6 separate regions of the Homo sapiens genome follow, and regions 1, 2, 3, 4 and 6 are each linked to region 5. The links are contacts of gene promoters, found by promoter capture Hi-C in blood cells and fetal thymus (Javierre and others, 2016). All regions are on one chromosome and are shown on one strand. The core of a region is centred on a gene start or on the middle of the fragment in contact, and the rest is flanking DNA. Distances in the headings are between cores, read along the strand shown.

What was found. The method cuts DNA at HindIII sites, captures the fragments that hold promoters and counts their contacts. A CHiCAGO score of 5 or more calls a contact.
Region 1: a contact is called between the fragment with the promoter of ASPRV1 here and the fragment with the promoter of FAM136A in region 5, in 1 of 17 cell types (total CD4 T cells). The highest score is 5.3, in total CD4 T cells.
Region 2: a contact is called between a fragment that was not itself captured here and the fragment with the promoter of FAM136A in region 5, in 3 of 17 cell types (M2 macrophages, M0 macrophages and M1 macrophages). The highest score is 10.1, in M2 macrophages.
Region 3: a contact is called between the fragment with the promoter of SNRNP27 here and the fragment with the promoter of FAM136A in region 5, in 4 of 17 cell types (neutrophils, total CD4 T cells, non-activated CD4 T cells and 1 more). The highest score is 7.6, in neutrophils.
Region 4: a contact is called between a fragment that was not itself captured here and the fragment with the promoter of FAM136A in region 5, in 1 of 17 cell types (non-activated CD4 T cells). The highest score is 5.4, in non-activated CD4 T cells.
Region 6: a fragment that was not itself captured here is called in contact with the fragment with the promoter of FAM136A in region 5 in 1 of 17 cell types (M2 macrophages); the score reaches 5.2 in M2 macrophages.

What each region holds. Positions count from the first base shown.
Region 1 is chr2:69,959,972-69,963,685 of GRCh38, reverse strand. It overlaps ASPRV1 (aspartic peptidase retroviral like 1), which reads left to right and starts at 2,055. Exons shown (of 1, transcript NM_152792.4): 1 at 2,055-3,597. The coding sequence starts at 2,250. The coding sequence ends at 3,029. PCBP1-AS1 (PCBP1 antisense RNA 1) reads left to right here. Exons shown (of 11, transcript NR_033872.1): 11 at 186-1,423. RefSeq lists a silencer at 1,875-2,169. The HindIII fragment of the contact is 12,271 bases long and covers 1-3,714 here.
Region 2 is chr2:70,774,575-70,778,634 of GRCh38, reverse strand. It overlaps FIGLA (folliculogenesis specific bHLH transcription factor), which reads left to right. Exons shown (of 5, transcript NM_001004311.3): 4 at 964-998; 5 at 1,253-1,325. The coding sequence ends at 1,268. Among named protein-coding and RNA genes, the nearest start is that of ADD2, 8.4 kb to the right of the region's middle. The HindIII fragment of the contact is 3,173 bases long and covers 159-3,331 here.
Region 3 is chr2:69,891,558-69,895,339 of GRCh38, reverse strand. SNRNP27 (small nuclear ribonucleoprotein U4/U6.U5 subunit 27) reads right to left here and starts at 1,384. Exons shown (of 6, transcript NM_006857.3): 1 at 1,322-1,384; 2 at 126-246. The coding sequence starts at 1,355. RefSeq lists enhancers at 1-823, 1,022-1,081, 824-1,759. The HindIII fragment of the contact is 14,817 bases long and covers 1-3,782 here.
Region 4 is chr2:69,917,256-69,921,150 of GRCh38, reverse strand. All of the region lies in intron 2 of MXD1 (MAX dimerization protein 1), which reads right to left. Among named protein-coding and RNA genes, the nearest start is that of MXD1, 4.1 kb to the right of the region's middle. The HindIII fragment of the contact is 1,268 bases long and covers 1,313-2,580 here.
Region 5 is chr2:70,299,764-70,303,451 of GRCh38, reverse strand. It overlaps FAM136A (family with sequence similarity 136 member A), which reads left to right and starts at 1,385. Exons shown (of 3, transcript NM_001329752.2): 1 at 1,385-1,848; 2 at 2,472-2,612. The coding sequence starts at 1,441. RefSeq lists a silencer at 1,196-1,465 and enhancers at 1,151-2,099, 2,100-3,049. The HindIII fragment of the contact is 2,364 bases long and covers 1-1,690 here.
Region 6 is chr2:70,791,760-70,795,731 of GRCh38, reverse strand. No RefSeq gene overlaps it. Among named protein-coding and RNA genes, the nearest start is that of FIGLA, 3.1 kb to the right of the region's middle. The HindIII fragment of the contact is 378 bases long and covers 1,898-2,275 here.

The sequences.
Region 1 (3,714 bases), core at 806-3,305, 340 kb after region 5:
GAGGTCCCAAGGGACCACCGATTTCTAGTCTAAGGGCAGTAGGGAGATCGGAATTCAACATCTACCACTATGGTTTGAAAAGCCGGTTCAGGGCATTTGGCAGTCCCAGCTTGTCAGCTGACAAGCCACCTGCCTCGCTCCTCCCTTGGTCGCATGCTAACCTCCTCACTCATTTCCACTTCCAGGGGACCAGATGTGCAGAGGTAATGAATACCAGGGAATCAGGAAACCACTGGATCAGTTCTTTGAGCCACAGAACAACACTCATCCCAGCAGCTGGGAAGCTATCTGCAAAAGTCCATCTGCAGAAAGGGCTTCCTGGTCTTGCGTGTGGCTGGGCCATTTCTCTGGATGCAGGTTTTTCATTATACAGTCTTCTCAAAGAACCACCTGCTCTCAACACCTTCTCGGTGACTCCATTTCCCCTCCTCTGGGCTCCTGGAATGCCACAATGGCCCCACCTTAGCCAGGCAGCTGTGATGAGAGGTGTTGACCCAACTGCCTCTCTGCTGGCTCACTGAATCAGGTGGAAGGGGCTGGGGACAGCACAGTCTTGCATTGTGGTTGGGGACCTGGGCCATCCAGAGGCAGGACTGTCCAAAGGCAGGGTACTGCTGGGATTCCGCCAGGCACTGGGTGATGCATGGCATAGGGAGCTGAAGAGGGACAGGCTCTTGGCCAGGAAAAACAGCCCCAGAGCCACAGGTGTGCCATCGAGTCTTCCTCCTCTCCCATCCTTAATCACTCCTGTTTGGTGACAGCACACAGCTAGGCCTGGAGCCCAGCAAAGAGCCCCTGGGTCCCAGAGGAAGTTGTTCTGGGGGCTGGAGACAATCACAAATGCCAGGTTTGTGAGCCCCAGACTCTGGTTCATAGCAAGAGGCAGACTTGTGAACAAACCACCAGATCACACCGTAAAACACGCTCAACGAGGAGTGGGTGCCCTTTCTAGGGACAGGCAGAAGGCTCCATGGAGTGACCTTTGAATGGGGACATAAAAGTGGATCCCTTCAACAGCCCCTGCACAGCCCCAAGTCAGGCCTCCAGCCCTTGGACTCACAGATGTCCTCTGTAGACGACTGGATGTCCTCCCGTGCTACCCTTTACCCCTGCAGCGAGGGGCACAGAGCCAGAGCCCTCCAGGTCCTCACCACTGGCATCACCAACATAGTGGACATTTTCCCTCTCAGAATGAAAAGGGAGTGAAATTTCCCGTGATCTTTCCACAAATGACCAGCTTGGGGAGTGGGAGAGGAAGTGCTGCAGTGCCTGGGGAAGGGGCCCTGGAACAGTTCCTGGAAATGGAGAGGGGTGGATAGGGTGGAGACAATGCTCATGGAGTGCAGTATGGGGCCTACCCAGAGTTGCTTGGCCACCCCTCTGCCTCTGAATCAGGGGTGATCAATGAAGGAAAATTACTGCAGCAGTTGAGTCCATGTAAGATGATTGTGCACGTGTGTGTGTGTGTGTGTGTGTGTGTGTGTGTCCTCACTCACTTAAAAAAGACCATTTCTGTGCATTCTTTATGCTGGAACCCTCCTCTGCCTCCCTCTCCAGGAAATCCCATAGGATCCCATACCTGCTTTAGAATGTGTGTGAGACACTTCCCAGTGCCTGGCATGTGGTAGGAGCTCAGTACATGTAAACTGTTTTCCTTTGACCACTCAAAGTAGTCACTTGTTGGGGAGGCCAATGGCGGCTTCCCCGGTCTCTGAGCTGATGGGCGTCTGGTCCCTGCCTCCCCTTCCTTCACTGGCTGATGACAAATACCTGAATGTCATCACATCCTCCGTGTCCTCATCTGTTATTCTGGAACACAGGCCAGGGAGGGTACAGGGTAGTCCCCCTTCAACAGAGGCTGGCCTTTCTTGGGATGTGGGCTGGCTGGTGTTGGTCCAAGGATGGATGCAGAGGGTGAGGCACCCATCCTGCTAGTCCGGCCGGATGCTGGCAGGAGGGCGGGGTGAGGAGGGGCGGAGCTTCCAGAACAAAGGAGAATGGGGAGCCCAGGGGCCAGCCTAGGCATCAAAAAGGCTCTGCAGAGTGAACAGGCCACAGCACTGCCTGCCTCTGCCCCAGCAGTCAGCCAGCCGACCGCGCCTGCTCCCTCCTGCTTGCCCAAGGCCGGGCAAGTCATCCCCACTCTGCTTCGAGAGGCCCCGTTTTCCAGCGTGATTGCGCCGACACTGCTCTGTGGGTTTCTCTTCTTGGCGTGGGTTGCTGCTGAGGTTCCAGAGGAGAGCAGCAGGATGGCCGGGAGCGGAGCCAGGAGTGAGGAAGGCCGCCGGCAGCATGCCTTCGTCCCGGAACCTTTTGATGGGGCCAATGTCGTCCCAAACCTCTGGCTGCACAGCTTTGAAGTCATCAATGACCTCAACCATTGGGACCATATCACCAAGCTAAGGTTCCTGAAAGAGTCCCTCAGAGGAGAGGCCCTGGGTGTCTACAATAGGCTCAGTCCCCAGGACCAGGGAGACTATGGGACTGTGAAAGAGGCCCTCCTGAAGGCCTTTGGGGTCCCTGGGGCTGCCCCCAGCCACCTGCCCAAAGAGATCGTCTTTGCCAACAGCATGGGTAAGGGCTACTATCTCAAGGGGAAGATTGGCAAAGTGCCCGTGAGGTTCCTGGTGGACTCTGGGGCCCAGGTCTCTGTGGTCCACCCAAACTTGTGGGAGGAGGTCACTGATGGCGATCTGGACACCCTGCAGCCCTTTGAGAATGTGGTAAAGGTGGCCAATGGTGCTGAAATGAAGATCCTGGGTGTCTGGGATACAGCGGTGTCCCTAGGCAAGCTGAAGCTGAAGGCACAGTTCCTAGTGGCCAATGCGAGTGCCGAGGAAGCCATCATTGGCACTGATGTGCTCCAGGACCACAATGCTATCCTGGACTTTGAGCACCGCACATGCACCCTGAAAGGGAAGAAGTTTCGCCTTCTGCCTGTGGGAGGGTCCCTGGAAGATGAGTTTGACCTGGAGCTCATAGAGGAGGACCCCTCCTCAGAAGAAGGGCGGCAGGAGCTATCCCACTGAGAAGCCACCTTTTCTTTAACCTCCTAAATATTGGTGGGAAGACCCACCGCTGTGGGGGGGGTTGCATATCCTCATGGGGGTCACTGGGCTTGGCCAGTCTGCTTATCAACTCTTGCTCTTCTCTCCCCTTTGCCTCCCTCTGCAGGGGCCTTAATCTGCCCCTGGTAGGGGAGGCTTCCACTGAACAGGCACAGGTGAGGGAGAGCAGGCTGGCTTAGAGGGACAGGGTCCCCATGGTCATCAAGCTGCTGTTGATGACAAAGACTCAAAGGCTGGAAGAGCTCCCAAGGAAGCTAGAAATGCTTGTCTTTGAAAGAACTGTGGGACCCCTTCAGATTCCCTGAGGTATGGCTTGGTCACTCTCAGGTCCTCAAAGCCTGTCTTAGTTGGGCTGGGTCCTAGCTGCAGGGTCTTTGTGAGGGTCACAGTTGCTCTGGGACACCTCCCTGAAGAGCCTTTCCACCTGTACAATCGTATTTTCTTTCTGTCATTTGCTTTGAAGCCCATTGTGCCTTATGCCAATAATTCAATTGCTGCAAACACCAATAAAGATTGATTCATGGAAAAACCATGTAATGTGTTGATTGAGGATGAGAGGAATGTGAGAGGGAGTCAGCATCAAAGACAAGGGAGATTCACATGTCTACTGAGTGCCTAGCTGGAGGTATAAGAACATATACACAGG
Region 2 (4,060 bases), core at 496-2,995, 470 kb before region 5:
TTCTTAAAAACAAACTAAAATAAATGTTCTAAAATGCAGTAGACTATAGGCAGAATATTGTCATCCTTTAATCCTTCAGGTAAATTTATATGAATTTGTCTCAAGTATAAAAAATTCTAAATATGAAAAAAATTAAAATTTATTTTAAAAATAAAGCTTCCAAAGCTAGGTCTGAACTATAAAAAGAAAGAAATGTTGATCACTTGTATAGTGGAAAGACTCGATCAAGATTAGAAAAAAAAAGCTACTCATACATATTTTGTGTCAGAGACTGCTCCTGGCAGTGTATACATATTAACCTATTTAATTTTCACAACCACCCTGTGCTATACAAACAATTATATCCATTTTACATGTGAGGAAACTAAGGAACAGAAGTAACTTGCCCAATACCTGCAAGTCAGTGAAGTGTTGGGGTTGGGGGGGATGTGGGTGATAGTGTTAAGTCCTTTTTAACCACTTTCGTTCTAACAAAACTCAACTTTGAAATGTAAAGGAGGGTGGACTAGAAAATAGATAAATGTTTAAGGCTAAGTTAAAGCATTTGATTGCGGTGCTTTACCATCCACAGTGATGTACATAATAGGTTTCAGTATCCAAAATGCCTGACCATGACTTGAGCGGCTTTATTTTTCAGTCATGGGTTTATTTTTTCTTCAAGTTGAGAGTTTCAGAAAATTGAGCAGAGACAAAATGATCTTGCCACGTTAGTAAAACCACTGATGGAAATACACTAAAATCCTTCCCATTTCTTTTCCTTTGCAACTAAAATAAAAAATTATCATCAGGTACATAACATTGTGTGCCTGTTCTTGATTTTTCTATCACTGGCATGTTTATGTGACCCATTAGGTGGGACAATTTTTTTACTGTTGGCCACTATGTTCTCAGTTTTTTGTTCTCTTAAACGTGACAAATAACCGATGTGTTTAGCCCTTTCTGTATTTTGTATTGTTTTTGCAGGATAGATTCCCAGAAGTAGAACTGCTGAGTCACAGGTAGGTCATTCTATAACCTGATGCATAGTGCCAATTTATAACACCACTGGCTGTATAATAAGAGTGCTAATTCCATCACATTCTTAGCAATGAGCTCTATTAAAAGAAGGAATCTTAATGGGTAAAAAAGTAGTATCTTTAAATTTAAACATCTTTGATTACTAATAAAATTAATTTTTTGCATATTTCTTTATTTCTTTTGTAAACGGTTCTTATTTTTAACTATTTATAATGGAATGTTTTCTCTGTTTCAGACTTCCACAAGTATGAAAAATGAAAAGGCCCAGGGTTACCTTCTAGAGACAAATAAATGCAGTCTTGAAAGTTTTGGAGTCTCTCTTTTTTTTTTTTTTTTGAGATAGAGTTTCACTCTTATCACCCAGGCTGGAGTGGCACGGTGTGATCTCGGCTCACTGCAACCTCCGCCTCCTGGGTTCAAGTGATTCTCCTGCCTCAGCCTCCTGAGTAGCTGGGATTACAGGCATGCGCCACCACGCCCAGCTAATTTTTGTATTTTTAGTAGAGACAGGGCTTCTCCACGTTGGTCAGGCTGGTCTCGAACTCCCGACCTCAGGTGATTCAACCACCTCAGCCTCCCAAAGTGCTGGGATTACAGGAATGAGCCACTGTGCCCCGTGGGAGTCTCTTTTTTAAAAAAGAAGTTTTGTAGTAATTCCGAGTTTAACAATTACCCTTTTAAATAGCCTTGCCTCTCTCAAGTTTACTCCACTCTGCCTTCTCCTTAACTTCATGCTTTGAAGAAATAGGCTTCAGGGGCTTCATCCTTTGCTTCCAACTCACTGTCATCCTCTGGGGACCTACATCTTTTTTTCATTGCTTTGAGAAATAAGTGACTGTTACCCTTCCAATAGAAATTAACCTTAATAGAAATGAAGACTTAAGCTAAAAGAGTTGTAAACATTGGCCAAGGGGAGTGAGAGTTTTCAAGGGTTTCTAGATACCCAGCTAAGGCCAAATGGCACCTTTTGTGCAAGGTAGACAGCCAAACACCTTGAGCACAAAGACTTCGTCTTTATAACCATTGCTCACAAAGACATAGTACTTATTATATGCTGGATTCTGTTCTCTATGCTTTCCATGTGTTAACTTGTTCTTACAACAAGCGTAAGATAATGGCATAAGTATCCCCATTTCACAGATGGGAAAACCAAGGTACAGAAAGTATAATTAGCTTAGCCTGCCTTAACAAATACCATAGACTGGGTGGCTTAACAACGGAGATTTATTTCTTATAGTTCTAGAGGCTGGAAAGTCCAAGATTATGGTCTGGCATTGTTCAGTTTCTGATGAGGGCTTTCTTCCTGGCTTGCAGATGACTGCCTTGTCACTGTGTCCTCATATGGCAGAGAGATAGCTAGCTTTGGTTTCCCTTCTTCTTATAAGGGCACCAATCCTATTGGATTAGGGCTCCATCCTGATGACTTCATGTAATCTTAATATCTCCTAGAGACCCTGTCTCCAAATACAGCCTTATTGGGGGTTAGGCTCTCAATATATGAATTTTGGGTGAACATATGCTGTTCATAGCATTCTGTCCCTAGCCCTTCCCCCAAATTCATTTTATCACATGCAAAATATATGCATTCCACCCCAGCAGCCCCCAGAATCTAAACTCATTCTCACTTTAAAGTACAAAGTCTCATTTAAATATCTTCTAAATCAGGTATGGGTGAGACTTGAGCTATGATTCCTATCTTTCTCCAGCTGTGAACCTCTGAAACCAGACAAGTTATGTGCGTCCCAAGCACAATGGTGAGACAGGTGTAGGATTGACATTCCTATTCCAAAAAGGAAAAATAGGAAACAAAGTGTTAATGGGTCCCAAGCAAGTCCAAAACCTATTGAGGCAAATTCCATTATATCTTAAGCCTCAAGAATAAATCCTCTTTGCTTTGATGCAGTGTCATCCTTGTGGCTTGGCAGGGTGACCTTCCCTCGGAAACTGAGGAGGAACTCAGCTCTTCTCCTGCCTGTGCCCCCTCCTCCAAAACATACACACACACACTGAGTGGCCACCCTGATCTCTGAGTTGCCTTTGGGGTCATTTCTTTCCTTTGCTTAAATAGTGCATGTTTGTAGCCAAATAGTGATATGGTCTAGTCCTATAGAATCTGAGAAGGCTGACAGCTTACCTTCATTCTTTCCCATTTTCTCTGTCCCCTTTCTTTCCAGCTATCAGGGTCTTTCTGGTATAATCCCGTCGGTATTCCTGGCTTCAGCTGAGATGGCTAATTAAGTATATGAGTCACACTCATGATCTGTTATCAAATGGTTGCTCAGCCACACCCTTAGTGATCTCTTCAGAGTAAGCTTTCTTAATTTTTGCAATATGGATAGGTTAAGAAATTTTCCAAGTCCCCAAGTTCTGGTTCCTTTTTTTTTTTTTTTCTTTTTAAGACAGAGTCTCTATCACCCAGGTTGGAGTGCAGTGGCACAGTCTTGGCTCTCTGCAACCTCCACCTCCTGGGTTCAAGCGATTCTAATGCCTCGGCCTCTTGAGTAGCTGGAATTACAGGTATGCACCACCATGCCCAGCTAATTTTTGTGTTTTTAGTACAGATAGGGTCTCATCATGTCCGCCAGGCTGGTCTTGAACTTCTGGCCTCAAGTGATCCACCCACCTCAACCTCTCAAAGTGCTAGGATTGCAGACGTGATCCACCACACCCAGCCTCTGATTCCTTTTTGCTTTTGATTTCTTCAGTTTATCTCATGTTTCCCGAATTTTACTATAAGCAGTAAGGAGGACCCAAACTGCACCTTTAATACTTTGTTTAGAAATCGCTTCTGCTAAATATTTAATTTTATCACTTGCAAGTTCTACCTTCCCAAAAGCACTAGAATGCTATTCAGCCAGATTGTTTGCCACTTTATAGCAGGATCACTTTTTTTTTTTTTTTTTTTTGGAGATGGAGCTTCACTCTGTCACCCAGGCTGGAGTGCAATGGCACAATCTCAGTGCACTGTAACCTCCGCCTCCCAGGTTCAGGCAATTCTCATGCTTCAGCCTTATTTCTACCAACATTCTGTTTCTGATTATTC
Region 3 (3,782 bases), core at 135-2,634, 410 kb after region 5:
TAAGTTTCCTCCATTTCAGGAAACCGTAAATCCCCTTATAAGCGATGAAAACAAAGTTAAGAGCTGCGACCAGTTTCTTAGGGACTTTCGGTAAATAAAACTCTTGGCTTATTTTCTGCCCTTACCGGGAGCGTCTTCGGTGCGGGGATCGCGAGCGGCTCCTTCTCCGATCTCTCTCCCGAGACCTGGACCTTTCTCGGCGCCTGCGTTCTCTCTCCCGGGATGTGGACCGGGAACGCCTACGTTCTAATGCAAACGCACACAAATTGCAGAACTGATAATTACCTCAAATATCTAGAGCTGCGCCGTCCAGTAGAAAAATAATGCAAACCATTACTAGTCACATTAAAAAGGTAAAAAGAGGCTGGGAGCGGTGGCTCACGCCTGTAATCCCAGCACTTTGTGAGGCTGGCGGGCGGATCACAAGGTCAGGAGTTCGAGACCAGCCTGGCCAACGCGGCGAAACCCCGTCTCTAATAAAAATACAAAAATTAGCCAGGCGTGGTGGCACGGACGGGTAATCCCAGCTACTCGGAAGGCTGAGGCATGAGAATCGCTTGAACCCAGGAGGTGGAGGTTGCAGTGAGCTGAGATCGGCCACTGCACTCCAGCCTGGGCGGGCGACAGAGCGAGACTCTGTCTCATTAAAAATAAATAAATTGATTTAAAAAAAAAACGAATCAGGGGCAGAACCGAGGGTCTAAGTTAGATCTCCTAATGGAAGTCCAGGGTTCTTTACGTCGCGCTGCCTCATTTATGGGGCTGGTAGCCAGAAAACATTACGAAGTGAGCTCCCAGGACTCAAAATTCTTAATATCGATTTCCCTGTAATGACCTGGGCAGGAATCTAACATTTATTAAGTATTTAAGAACCAGGCAGAATCACATACTGTATGTTATGGGATGTGACATTAATTCTCACATCAGTTTTTAAAAGTTGGCAATACTACCCTCAATGACTCATTCTGGGAATTCGATTCAGAAAGGCTGAGTAGTGACTTGCCCACCGTCGCCCAGAAATTCAGCAAAGGAACTGAGGTCTAATTCTAAACCCACCGGCCACAGTGTAATAAAAGTTATTGTATGAAGGTGACAAAGACTTAATGAAACTAATTCAGAGACAAACAACTGCCTTCAAACCGGAGAGGGCGGGCTGAAGAGGGCAGGGCCCAGGTCTACGTTCCTTTATCCACCCCTCGCTCTCCGCCTGGGAAAAGGGCCCGCCTCTCTGCTACGCGGCTACCAAAAACAAAACAAAATAAAACAAAAGGGACAGGCCTCCAACAGAGCCCCATATCCTCCGAATTGCTACAGGACTCACCCCTCCGTGGAGAGCGGCTGCGACTGCGACCCATTTGGAGTCCCGCTTCCCGGAAACAACTGTGCAACAACTTCCGGGAGGGCCGGGAACCGAGCTTTTACCGCCGACCAGAAAACGTCAAAACGAGTTGCGAGGGTTCCGGTCTTCTTTGTTCACGGTGGGCATTAAAACATGCGATTTGGTGTTATTATAGAAATTCCTGGAAAATTCAGCCGTATACCCATTATCCTAACACAGCTTTCATTTTTCCCCCATTTTTGTCCACATGCACAAAATAGAGCAAACCAATTGTAAACATAGCATAGACAAACAGCTTATGTTCTTCCACTTTTCCACATAACATTCATAAGGAGTGAATATACCAAAGTTCACTGTCCATCTGCTTTATATTTTCTCATGCCAGCATTGAGAAGGCACCCAAAACCTCCTATGGGCTCTTGGAAGGAAAACTAAAGGCCCCAGATTCCATCCTACCCGACAAAGTACTTCCCCAAAGTTGCCTCTGTCCTCAGGGAAAACAACAACAACAACAACAAAAACTTTAGAATGTTCAAAACTACAAAAATTAGGAGAAAGACTGTCTTGCCCCAAGGCTGAACCGTCTGTGGTAGAGCATAAATATGCTTACCAGGAAAGACTCAAACCTCTATTTCTTATTTTATTTTATTTTGTTCCAGGGTACATTTGCAGGATGTGCAGTTTTGTTACATAGGTAAATGTGTGCCATGGTGGTTCGCTACACCTATCAACCCATTAAGCCTTGCATCTATTAAGCTATTCTTCCCAATGCTCTCCCTCTCCCCAGCTCCTCCCCCTACAGGCCCCAGTGTGTGTTGTTCCTCTCCCTGTGCCCATGTGTTCTCATTGTTCAGCTCCTACTTATAAGTGAGAACATGCAATGTTTGGTTTTCTGTTTCTGTGTTAGTTTGCTGAAGATAATGGCTTCTAGTTCCATCCATGTCCCTGCAAAGGACATTATCTCGTTCCTTTTTATGGCTGTGTAGTATTCCATGGTGTATACGTACCACATTTTTTTAATCCAGTCTATCATTGATGGGCATTTGGGTTGATTCTATGTCTTCGCTATTGTGAATAGTACTGCAGTGAACATATGCGTGCAAGTATCTTCGTAATAAAATTATTTATATTCCTTTGGGTATATACCCAGTAATGGGATTGCTGGGTCAAATGGTATTTCTGGTTTTAGGTCTTTGAGGAAACACCACATTGTCTTCCACAATGGTTGAGCTAATTTACATTCCCACCAACAGTGTAAAAGTGTTGAACCTCTGTTTCTAATCAAACCAACTCTTTTCAGTCAGCTCTCTCTAGAATTATCAAGTCTAGTGACCTGGCTTTTAAAATACAAAGAGCTGGGGGATGGAAAGGGACTTTATTAGGTTGGAAAAAATGCCCACCAATCACATAAATTTTTAATTAGATTTATACATTCAGAGTGGCCTGTTTAATACCTGTCCCAACCCAAACTTCCAGGAAAGATCCAGCCATGACATCTAGGATTTCTACCAACAGCCCCAACCCCCAGATGCCTTTGGAATTACCCTGGCAAAGCATGCACTAGGTGTAGAATGGGGAGGTTCAAGGGAGGTGCAGACCCCAGGGAAGAAGATTTAGGGACATCATTGGAGAAACACACCACTAATGATAGCCAGGCGTGGTGACGCATGCTTGTAATCCCAGCTACTTGGGAGGCTGAGGCAGGAGAATTGCTTGAACCTGGGAGGTTGAGGTTGCAGTGAGCTGAGACTGCGCCACTGCACTCCAGCCTGGGCGACAGAGTGGGACTCCGTCTCAAACAAAAAAAAAAAAAAAGAAAGAAGAAGCACACCACTAATGATTGAAGAAATTATCCACAGGAAAGACAGGATTTATGGGAAGCCTAAGGGGGTATGTACTAGATGTGTAAGAGAGGAAGAACATGGTGGCCTCAGGTGGTGGCTGAAAATACTCTTTCTTTCTCTTTCTCTTTCTCCTTCTCCCCTCAGGGCTGGGGTCTCATCTGATGAAAATGCTTTTTAAGAAACCCCTCACCCGGCGCGGTGGCTCACGCCTGTAATCCCAGCACTTTGGGAGGCCGAGGCGGGCGGATCACGAGGTCAGGAGATCGAGACTACAGTGAAACACCGTCTCTACTAAAAATACAAAAAATTAGCCGGAGGTGGTGGCGGGTGCTTGTAGTCCCAGCTACTCGGGAGGCTGAGACAGGAAAATAGTGTGAACCTGGGAGGTGGAGCTTGCAGTGAGCCGAGATCGCGCCACTGCACTCCAGCTGGGCGGTAGAGTGAGACTCCGTCTCAAAAAAAAAAAAAAAAAAAAAAAAAAAAAGAAACCCCTCTAGGACTAAAAATGATTGGAAGGTATGCTGGGGATCAGTTGAATACACAAAGATTTTTTGAATGCATGCGATGCACAGGACACTATACCCCTTTGGCACTAGATT
Region 4 (3,895 bases), core at 697-3,196, 380 kb after region 5:
GATAGGTTGCTTAAAGCAGAAGTTAGTGAAATGTGAAGTCCAGCTTTGCCACTGATATACTGTGGAATGAATAAAATTCTTTACCATCCTGTTACTGGTTAACCTGTCTATAAAATGAGAATAAAAATAATTACGAATTATTTACTGAACAAGTATGGACCAATGAGGTAACAGCTGTAAAACTGATTAGAGAGCCTTGGATGAAAGGTGTGATGGATATGAAACCATATGATTAGTGTATTTATGGCTGACCTTAAAGACAAGGTCTGGCCTAAGACTTTATGGACAAGTTACCATAAAGTCATAAGAAGTCAATGTGGCCCCTTTAGTGTCCTCCTCACACAACCCCTTCCTAACCAGTTATAAATTTGGAAGAAGCTACCAGTATTATAAAGGAGCTGAATCTTGCTTGACCTTTCTATGAAAATTCTCTAGAATTTAACCAGCTCAGGAGTTTACTCCCTGGTTCAGCTCATGAATTCTGTGGGGCCATAATCAGCACCTTACTGGGCTTAGGAAATAAATTCTCACAGCAATCATGGAGGAATACCACCTCAAGAGTGCTCAGCCACTCATTTACATCAGGGGCACCAACATCAAGTTCACTCATCAGAGAATGGGGGTAAGGAGAGTGAATGTGGGGGGATGGCAGCGGAAGTGAGGAGGTTGTCTTGAAATGAGAAATTTCCAACCTAGCATTAAACTTCTCTTTCACAGGGATCTTAGGAATCAATTTTTATTCACGAAGAAAAAATAAATGAGAAAATGACAGTATTTTAAGTTTAGAATATTTGTTTTCTAGGTAAACAATATATGGACCTCATGTATTCAAACCAATCCAAAATTGGTTAACTTAAAAGTTTCAGGCTAGGCGCAGTGGTTCACATCTGTAAGCCCAACACTTTGGGAGGCCGAGGCAGGCGGATCATGAGGTCAGGAAATTGAGACCATCCTGGCCAACATGGTGAAACCCTGTCTCTACTAAAATACAAAAATTAGCCGGGCGTGGTGGCGCGTGCCTGTAATCCCAGCTACTCCCTTGAACGAGGGAGTTGGAGGTTGCAGTGAGCTGAGATCGTGCCACTGCACTCCAGCCTAGCGACAGAGGGAGACTCCATCTCAAAAACAAAACAAAACAAAACAAAACAAAACAAAACAAAACAAAACTTTAAAATGGTCAGGCATGGTGGCTCAGACCTGTAATCTCAGCACTTTGGGAGGCTGAGGCAGGAGAATTGCTTGAGCTCAGGAGTTGGAGACCAGTGTGGGCAACACAGCAAGAGCCCATCTCAATTAAAAAGAAATAAAAGCTTTACACTGATTCACTTGGTTATCCCTCAGCATTCTCCAGTCACATTGTTCTGAAGGTTTATTGCCTTCAATGGCCAACAGGATACTATAGTTAACAAGAATCTGGCATATACTGCAAACCTTTGGCTCTAAAGCACGTGGCATTTTAACTTTAACCGGGACTAGTAAGTTCAAAGCCTGACAGATTTTTTTAAATGGATGAAAGTAGATGGGCATAGTGGGATCCCAGCACTTTGGGAGGCTGAGGTGGGTGGATCACTTGAGGTCAGGAGTTCGAGACCAGCCTGGCTAACCTGGCGAAACCCCGTCTTTACTAAAAATACAAAAATTAGCCAGGCATGGTCACATACGCCTGTAATCCCAGCTACTCGGGAGGCTGAGGCAGGAGAATCACTTGAACCCAGGAGGTAGAGGTTGTAGTAAGTCGAGATGGTGCCACTGCATTCTAGCTTAGGCAACAGAGCGAGACTGTCTAAAAATAAATAAATAAATAAAATAAAATGGATGAAAGTATATGCCAACAGTTGGTTGAGATTACCCTCTTTAACTGTAGACAAGGACCACCCCTTGTAGGTGGAGGAGAGGAAAGTGAATAGGTTGAGAAGAGAGTAGAAAATAACAGCACACAGGAAATTCTTACCAAAATATTTCTGGATTCTTTGAAAATATATAAACTAATAAATAGAGTTATATACTTATGCAAAATTCTGAATCCCCAAAATAAACTTTTAAACAAACTCCATAGGAAGCACAACTTCTTCCAAAATTTGAACAAAATTTTTAAAACTACAGATTTTATTTGATTACTCGAGTGTTAAACACATGGTGCTTTTTAAAGGGGGACTTGTACTTAATGGCTAGAGCATTACTGAAGTGCATCTAGTTTACTGAAACTGAGTTATTAATAAAAAGCAGCCCTTTCAAAAATGATCAGTTCCGAGACTGCCAGCCACCTCCATTGATGGGTAAACATTTACGTTTTTAATTAAAGCACTGTAAGAACACACTGATACCTTGTGTCAAAACTATTTTCCATGTGATTATGGAAAACAATGGATAACTCTGGAATCACTGATAAAGGTCAAATTTCACCATTTAAAAATACACTCTAATAAAAAAAAACTAAGCCAAATTACGGCGTATCTGAGATAACCAGGAAAAATTCTTGGGTTCAAAAACACTCCTCATGTCAGGTCACTCTAGCCACTGTCTTATAAAACAACTGGGTGGCAAGTCCTGAACTTCCTCTTTCACGTGAGTGCCAAAGCTTGCTTTACTCATTGAACAAAACACACTTTTAAGAAGTTCTAGATTTCAATTCTAAATAATTAGTAATTGACTTCAAAAATCAGTAGGAAAGAAACTTCCATCTTCCCATATTCCAGCAGTTCTATGGATAATTTCAAAAACAATTGATATTCACAATTTCATTTTCATTTTTGTTGTTTTAATAAGCAACTAGAGAAACGTGAATAAGATCTGCATTTTCAGTTCCCAAGAAGTTTCCTATGTGGCAAAATCTTATCTTTTATTGTCCAAGGAAAAGTACTTCCCTAGACTCTACAAGCAAAAAGCACAGCATTTCAACCTGTAAGAACAAGAATAAACTGTTATCCAAGGGTTATGTAAACCAGCAGTAATCTCTCCCTATCCTTTACCTCAGTTCAAAATTCTGACCATACATGGCTGAGGATATAAAGCCGATTCAAACCATGGGGTCAAGCTGCTTTCTCCATTATGATTGCTTGTTCCTCAGAAAAGGAGCTATTCCAAATGAGTCATGAAGGAAATGATCACACTGAAAGAAAACTGCCTGCTCTTGCCTCACACGTTTGGCTGGTGCTACCTCTAGGTTTAATCATGGTCTCTCAGAAATCCTTACACCACTGAATATATTACACTAACTCACTATCAGTCAGGTGTATGGACAACTGTGATAATCCCGTCTCTAACCATGGAAAGCAAACCAACCCATTAACAGAAGGATTTGTAGCCTTTATTTTTTTTTTTTTGGCATAGTACTGATTATTAAAGAGAAGATACTAGAAAGAATCCATTTCTTGGCTTAAGATTCTTAACTACTATTATTTTTCTTTCCTAATCACCTTTTGGGACCAAGCCACTTCAACATCTCATTTTCTTATCCCCACTAGTGAACATCCCCTACAACCTTCCTGTGAAACTAAGGAAAAAAACAAAGTGTTAAGGTATTAAGCCTCAATAAGTAACTTGGACAATTCCTCTCAAATCATTAGTGGACAATAATAAAAGCAAAAATGGATGATGCTTTTCCAGAAAAATTAACTGAAAGGCCTCAAAATTCTTCTAAACAAAATTAAAAAAATATTGTAACAAAATGCAACACAGCTTAATTGGTTTTACACCATTGCATATTACAAGTCAGTATTAACATCTTTCTTAAAGTGCCTTCATACCCATGCACAAAACTACTGGCTACCACCTTCAGGTAATGCTAAGGTGGGAGGACAAGCAAAACCTACCAGGTAATTACCAGGTTGATCCTTCAAGTGCCATTTTTATTCAAGGGCATGGCACAAGTAATGCTGCTCACATCCTGTGGTTC
Region 5 (3,688 bases), core at 136-2,635:
CCAGGACTGGGTGGTGGTGCATACCCGTAATCCCTTTGATAGGCAGAGGCAGGAGGATAGCTTGAGGCCTGGAGTTTGAGACCAGCCTGGACAACATAGCAAGATCCCATCTCCAAAAGAAAAAAAAAATGGTCAAGGATGTTCATAGTCACCACTTTATTCATAATAGCTACTAAGTGGAAAAGACCCAAACACCCATCAGCAGGGGAATGGATCAACAAATGTGGGCCGGGACCGATGCCTCATGCCTGCAATCTCAGCACTTTGGGAGGCCGAGGTGTGTGGATCCCTTGAGCTCAGGAGTTGGAGACCAGCTTGGCTAACATGGTGAAACCCCGTGTCTACAAAAAAAAAAAAAAAATTAGCCAGACGTGGTGGCACATGCCTGTAATCCCAGCTACTCGGGAGGCTGAGGCATGAGAATCACTTGAACCAGGGAGGTGGAGGCTGCATGAGCCGAGACCACATCACTGCACTCCAGCCTGGGTGACAGAGTAAGACCCTGTCTCAAAAAACAACAACGACAAATGTGGTATGTCCATTCAATAGAATACTACTCAGCAGCAAAAAAGAACCAACAACACAGCTCAATCTCGAAAGCATTAGGCTAAGTATTTTTCAGCAATATGCTAAAAAAGCCAGACAGAAAAGGAGTACTTATTGGATAATAACATACATATGACATTCTAGAAAGAGAAAATGTAATCTACAGTGACAGAAGCAGACCAGTTAGGGCAGGGGTGGGGAGATGGGGTAGAAAGGACGGAGATTGGGACAAGACAGAGTTTGGGTTTTTATTGTTGTTTAGAGACAGAGTCTCACTCTGTCGTCCAGGCTGGAGTGCAATGGCGTGATTTCGGCTCACTGCAACCTCTCCCTCCCGGGTTCAAGCAATTCTCCTGCCTCAGCCTCCCAAATAGCTGGGACTACAGGCATGTGCCACCACACCCGGCTAATTTTTGTATTTTTAGTAGGGACGGGGTTTCGCCAGGTTGGCCAGGCTGGTCTCAAATTCCTGAGCTCAGGTCATCCACCTGCCCACGGCCTCCCAAAGTGCTGGGATTACAGGCGTAAGCCACTGCGCCCGGCGGACAGGGTTTGTTAAAACTCATCAAGCAGCACGCCTAAGATCTGGGCATTTATCTGTATGTAAATTACATTAAATAATTTTAAAGAATGTAAAGGGAGGGACATGGGAGGGAGGAGGAAAGGCAGGCAGCAGCCGCAGGGCAGGTGTCCCAGTGACCGGTTCCCAAGCGGGAGGAGGGCGGTGGGCTCGCGGACACCAGCATGCAGTGGCTCCGTTCGGCCGCCAGGGGGGGGCGTGGGCCCTGGAAGGGCAGGCGGCGAAGGGCGGCGAAGGGCGGTGAGGGGGCGGGCCCGTACGCCGATTCCATATGGGCGCCGGCGCGGAGCGCCGCGGGGCAGCGCGGGGTCGCCATGGCTGAGCTGCAGCAGCTCCGGGTGCAGGAGGCGGTGGAGTCCATGGTGAAGAGTCTGGAAAGAGAGAACATCCGGAAGATGCAGGTAGCGGGGCTGGGGCCGAACCAGGACCCCCTTCTCAGCGGGTGGGTTCCGGGCCCTTCCCTCAGCCACCACGCGACGCCTTGCACTGCAGCCGCGTCCCCGCAGACCGGGTGTGGGCGGCCCTGGGGTCGCCGGGGCGGCCTCGGACAGGACTTCGGAAGCTTTGGCGGATCGGATGAAATCCGTGTGCCCTTGCCGTGCGCGAGGCTGTTTTCCGCCCCTTCCAGCCCGGGGCAGGAGCGTCCTCGGCGGCAGGTGGGAAGCCCCTGGTGGCAGGCGCTCGCCCCACCACCTTCCCCTCTTACGCGGCCCCTTCCGCAGGTGAGCGGCCCGAGGCCCAGCAGAGGCGCTGCCAACGTGAAAGACCAGAAAGGCGAGGACTTCCGGCCTCCCCGTTGGCCAGGTCATGCCTGCTTCTCTTGCGCCCAACCTCGCTTCACACAGCGCGGGTTTCTACACTGTTCTTCTCTGAGCCCCGCAATGCCTCTGTGTGTTTCGGTCCTGCTTCTCTCACGGAGTATGCGTTTCCCAGATAGTGCCCCTTGAGTCATTGATTAGTGGGTCGGCTGCCCTCTGGTGGAATTTGTATTGCTAGGTTGCTGACCTCTGAACCCCATGGAAGAGGCTCCTGGTTTTCAGAATTTGGCTTCGTCAGACCACCCTACCCTCACCCACTCGGGCGAACCTCTGTTCACCCAACCATCGGTGCAACAGGTGCCGATGAGCTAGCAGCAAGGACACCATGAAACACTACACTAGACATTGAGGATAATTTTCCCCAGTGGTGGTTTTAAGGTCCTGGTGTCTATTCTCAGGGAAGGTGAAAGCAGAAGGTGGAGAGAGAGGTGCAAATATCCACGTGGCCTTCTAACTCCTGTAGTGCTCCATAGTCATCTCTGTCCCCAGAGACTTTCCTACCTAACCTCTCTGCCCTTTCTCCCCAGGGTCTCATGTTCCGGTGCAGCGCCAGCTGTTGTGAGGACAGCCAGGCCTCCATGAAGCAGGTGCACCAGTGCATCGAGCGCTGCCATGTGCCTCTGGCTCAAGCCCAGGCTTTGGTCACCAGTGAGCTGGAGAAGTTCCAGGTGAGAAATATCCTAGACAGAGCACTGTAGTCCTTGATACAGACTTTTGCAGGAGATGACAAGCATTTGTTCAAAACTCTTGGCTTTAGTGTCTTGGTTCTGTTAACAGTTGTGATACTGATGGCCAACCAGTTTTCACAGGGTTTGAAATTTTGGAAAAAGTCTTGGCGGTCGAGTGCCTTAAGTTGAACATCATTTCCTATAGAAATGATGTAGGCCGAGCGCGGAGGCTCATGCCTGTAATCCCAGCACTTTAGGAGGCTGAGGCAGGTGGATCATGAGAGCAGGAGATCAAGACCATCCTGGCCAACATGGTGAAACCCCGTCTCTACTAAAATACAAAAAATTAGCCAGGCGTGGTGGCACGCACCTGTAGTCCCAGATACTAGGGAGGCTGAGGCAGGGGAATCTCTTGAACCCAGGAGGTGTAGTTGCAGTGAGCCAAGATCGCGCCACTGCACTTCAGCCTGGCAACAGAGCGAGACTCTGTCTCAAAAAAAAAGAAATGATGTAATGGGGAGTTACCAGGGGAGTTCATGACCAAGAGCCCTTATGCAGTTTGTTGGGGAGGAGGCGTTTGTTTGTTCCTTTTGACATAACCACCAAATACAGAATGTATACTGTGTAGTATAAAGTTTCCTGGCTGGACGCGTAGCTCGCGCCTGTAATCCCAACATTTTGGGAGGCCGAGGCGGGTGGATCACGAGGTCAGGAGTTTGAGACCGTCCTGGCCAACATGGTGAAACCCCATCTCTACTAAAAATACAGAAATTATCTGGGCATGGTGGCAGGTGCCTGTAATCCCAGCTACTCGGGAGGCTGAGGCAGGAGAATCGCTTGAAACTGGAAGGCGCAGGTTGCAGTGAGCCAAGATCGCATGCCATTGCGCTCCAGCCTGGACAACAAGAGCGAAACTCCGTCTCAAAAAAAAATAAATAATGTTCAGGCACGGTGGCTCACACCTGTAATCCCAGCACTTTGGGAGGCCGAGGCAGGCAGATCACGAGGTCAGGAGATCCAGACCATCCTGGCTAACACAGTGAAACCCCGTCTCTACTAAAAATACAAAAAATTGG
Region 6 (3,972 bases), core at 837-3,336, 490 kb before region 5:
GCATGCCTTCTAACTCTCCCTAAGTGAAAAAATAGCTTTCTTAATTTTAAATGAAAAAAAAGTGTTATTTAAAGCCAGTATTAGGGGAATTTTCTCTTTAAAATGGCATTTGACCAAGAGTCTTCTCATTTCCCTCTAAAATACATAATAACACACAGAAAAAGGCAAAACTGACAGCAGCAGCAGAAACCAAGACAGGTAGTAACTCAATTGCCAGAGAAATTTTACCGACTACCTGTAATAGTCATGGAGCTGAGGTCAGAAACATGATTTGAAGCAAGCACATGTCTTGCTTTTTGAAACAGAGCAACAATAAGAAATTGGTAAAAGGTCCTTTAGCCTTATCCTGCTTTTTGCACCATTGACTCAGAGACCTAGTGTCTGTATCAATCAGCAAACTAGACAGGGATCCCCTTTCTTCAAGGCATTGTGTTTTGAGATAGCTGTGTGTCCCCATCCTTACTCCAAGGGTGGACTCCATTCGGCTGGCATTGTACTGGACTACAAGGTATTTAGGACTCAGGAAACAAAAAAGCAGTAAAGAGAGGATGTTATCAGTTGCATCCCAAGAGGTCTGGTCCCACAAAGGAAGAGCAATAAGCAGGAATAGCAAACACAAGGAGAGCAATGCATTCTGGGACCTAAAGATGTTCACATACTTCAGGCAGCCTGGAACAGGAAACTCCCTACTAGACCCATAGAGCAGTATAGGATGAATGCAACTGAGCCAGTACTGTGTATATCAACCATAGTATATCACCAGCATCTAAGAGGACACTTATCCTTCAATTTTCCATGGCAGAGAGATCTTCCTACTTTCTATGTAAACTTAGGTAAGCTTTTTCATTCATCTATTTATTTATTCACAAATATATATTATAGGGTCAAGCAGCTATGGCAAAACGTGAAAGATTTTACCTGAATAAGCAGGTTCTTATTTTACCCATGTCAAAGTAGCTTTTTTACTTCATTGCAAGCATCATTCATTCATTTGCCTTCTCACTCATTCAACAAATGTTTATTGCATGTCTACTGTGTGCCAAGCCAGCACTCCGTAGGTGCTGGAGATGCTGTGGCCAGTGATCCTCCTTCAAGGAGCCAAAATAAGAGAAATAAATGATCTCGCAGAGGCTTATGGGCACTACTGGAGCACAGAAGAGGGGCACTAGGACAGAGACTCCTGTTGTCAACCAAATGCGTTCTCCCCATTGAACAGAATTGTAGCCAGGCACATGGCTCCCCAGTCAGACTACATTCCCCCACCCTTTCTTGCATCCGTGTGTAGCCATGTGTGAATTCCTGCCAATGGCATGTGAGTTGAATCCTATGTGCCACCTCTGGTCAGGCCTTAAGATCTCTTCCGTGCCCTTCTCCTGGAACCCAGATACGGTGGCTACCGAGCCTCAGCCATGCCAATGATGACAATGCTGTAGGGGAGTTGACCCTAAGGGATGGAAGAACAATAATTTGGAAGGAACCTAAGTCCCCAAGTGACCTTGAGGAGCAGAGCTGACCTAAACCTTTCACACTGTTAGAGGATAGTGAAACTTTTTGTTCATTAGGCCATTGTATTATTGGGTGTATGGCAAGGTATCAGCCCTAAGTCACCATCAGGTGTAACACTTTAGCTTAAATCAGTTCACATGATTGCTTTCCCTGAGAACAATGACATAACGTATGAATCTAACAGACCAGAGGCCAGAAAGTTAAGAGTTGGAGTTTATGGAAGAACACAGGTATGAAGGAATCAAATCTGGTGTGCTCACAATGGGTTCCTAATGTACACCACCTTGTTCACTGCAAGGTTTGGCAATAAAATAGAATAATATCAATGATGTCCTTTATGATGCTTTCAAGGAAAGTTAAGTAAATGGGTAAGCTATCTCCATTTTAAGCTTTTTCCCACACTTTTGGCCCTTGTTGCTTTCCATCTGCCTGCCAGCAGACAACACCAAATGAACTTAGCGCAAACAAAGTATTTTCCTACTTAAAAATATATTTTAAATTACAGAAGTGGCCCGTGTTTATTGTGAAATAAGCTATATAGAGGATGTGATGTGCAGTCACACTTCCCCATTCCCAGGCCATGCTCAAGGAACCTCAGTCAAACATTTGGTGTGTCCCCTTCTTTCCTTTGACCTTTCCTGGGAGGCAATGTCAGAGTGGGAGCTGAAGAAGGGTGGGGCCTAAGAGGTGGCTGATGTGGTTAGAAAATTGGTTAGGTACAGGGATTGAGCAAATAAGTAATTACACTGAGGATAATGTGAGTCAAGCTTCTCATTGTTGGAGAAGGGAGTTACAAAAGCAGATATGGGGTGAGGAGTTACAAAAAAGGAAAGCAGAGAAACTAGAGGGAACCTGAGGTGTTGGGTTGGAGTTGGAGGTATTAGTGTGAACTCATGGTTTTAAATATATATGTACTTAGATACACAGATATAGTTATTATATGCATTATATTATATTAGAGGATATTATATGCATTATTATAATATAATACATGCATGTGTACTTACCTACATATGTGTCATATCTGCAAAAAGGGCTTAGAAGCAATGACATCCCAAAAGGAATGAGCAAGCAAGCACACAGATCTTGGTTTCTAAATCCTACCTTCCACTAAAAGAAGAATAGACTGATCCCTGGGCTGGGGCTGGGAAAATTCAAGAAGAGCCTTCCTGGGACAAGTGAGAAAGTGCACAAAGAATGAGGGAGTCATATGAAAAGGACAGAGGAGCCAGCTTAGAGGGCCTCCCATAAGCCAAATCTGAGACAATTTGAGCATTAACATAATGATGTAAATAAATTATATCCTGTGACTAAAATAGAAATTCATGAGCCCATGCTGACATAAATACAAAATGAATAAATAAATGGGAAGAAGGGAAAGCTCTTTTTCACAGTAGAATGCCAATCATTTGCCTCTAATTGTAGTGCTGGTTGATTCAGGTAGGAGTCAACAATGGATGAGAAGGAGTATCTCCTCACAAAATTTTTTTTTATTTTTATTTTTTGAGACGGAGTCTTGCTCTGTTGCCCAGGCTGGAGTGCAGTGGCACAGATCTAGGCTCACTGCAAGCTCCGCCTTCCGGGTTCACACCATTCTCCTGCCTCAGCCTCCTGAGTAGCTGGGACTACAGGCACCCGCCACCGCGCCCGTCTAATTTTTTAATATTTTTTAATAGAGACAGGGTTTCACCATGTTAGCCAGGATGGTCTCAATCTCCTGACCTCGTGATCCGCCCGCCTCAGCCTCCCAAAGTGCTGGGATTACAGGCATGAGCCACCGTGCCTGGCCCACAAAATATTTATCAATTTATGGTGAAAAAACCTGACACCACCACCTTGACCAGGCGATTAAGGTTAACATCACCAGTGGTGGGGCAGATCAACCTCATGTACTTCCTGATGTGATGCACTGAGAAGAGCCCAGCATCATTTATATGGAGCCCCTCCATGAAGGCATGGCTGGGGTCTGGACATGAGCAAATAGTGGACAACCCCAGGTCGAGGGACATACTACAGAATGAAAGGCCCCTACTCTTTTAAACTGTCAAGGGCATGAAGACAGGACAAGATGGAGGAAATGGTCCAGAATGAAGGAGAGTAGAAATATGACAACAGAATAAAACTTGTACTCCTGGATTGGATTCCAACCAGAAGAGAAAAAGACATTGTTGAGACAGCTGGTGGTACTTTGATGGGGTCCATGGATTGTATGGTAGCACAGTACCAATGCTTACTTCCTAGTTTGAGTGGTTGTGTTGCGGTTATGTGGAAGAGAGGCCTTGTTTAGGGGGAATACCCACTGGAGTATTTAGAGGTGATATGACAGCATGTCTGCAACTTAAAAACTTTAAAAAAAGAATAGATCAATGGATGCAGCTAGACGTCATTATTGTAAGGGAACTAACACAGAAACAGAAAACCAAACATTGCCTGTTCTCACTTTATAAGTGTGAGCTAAACATTGAA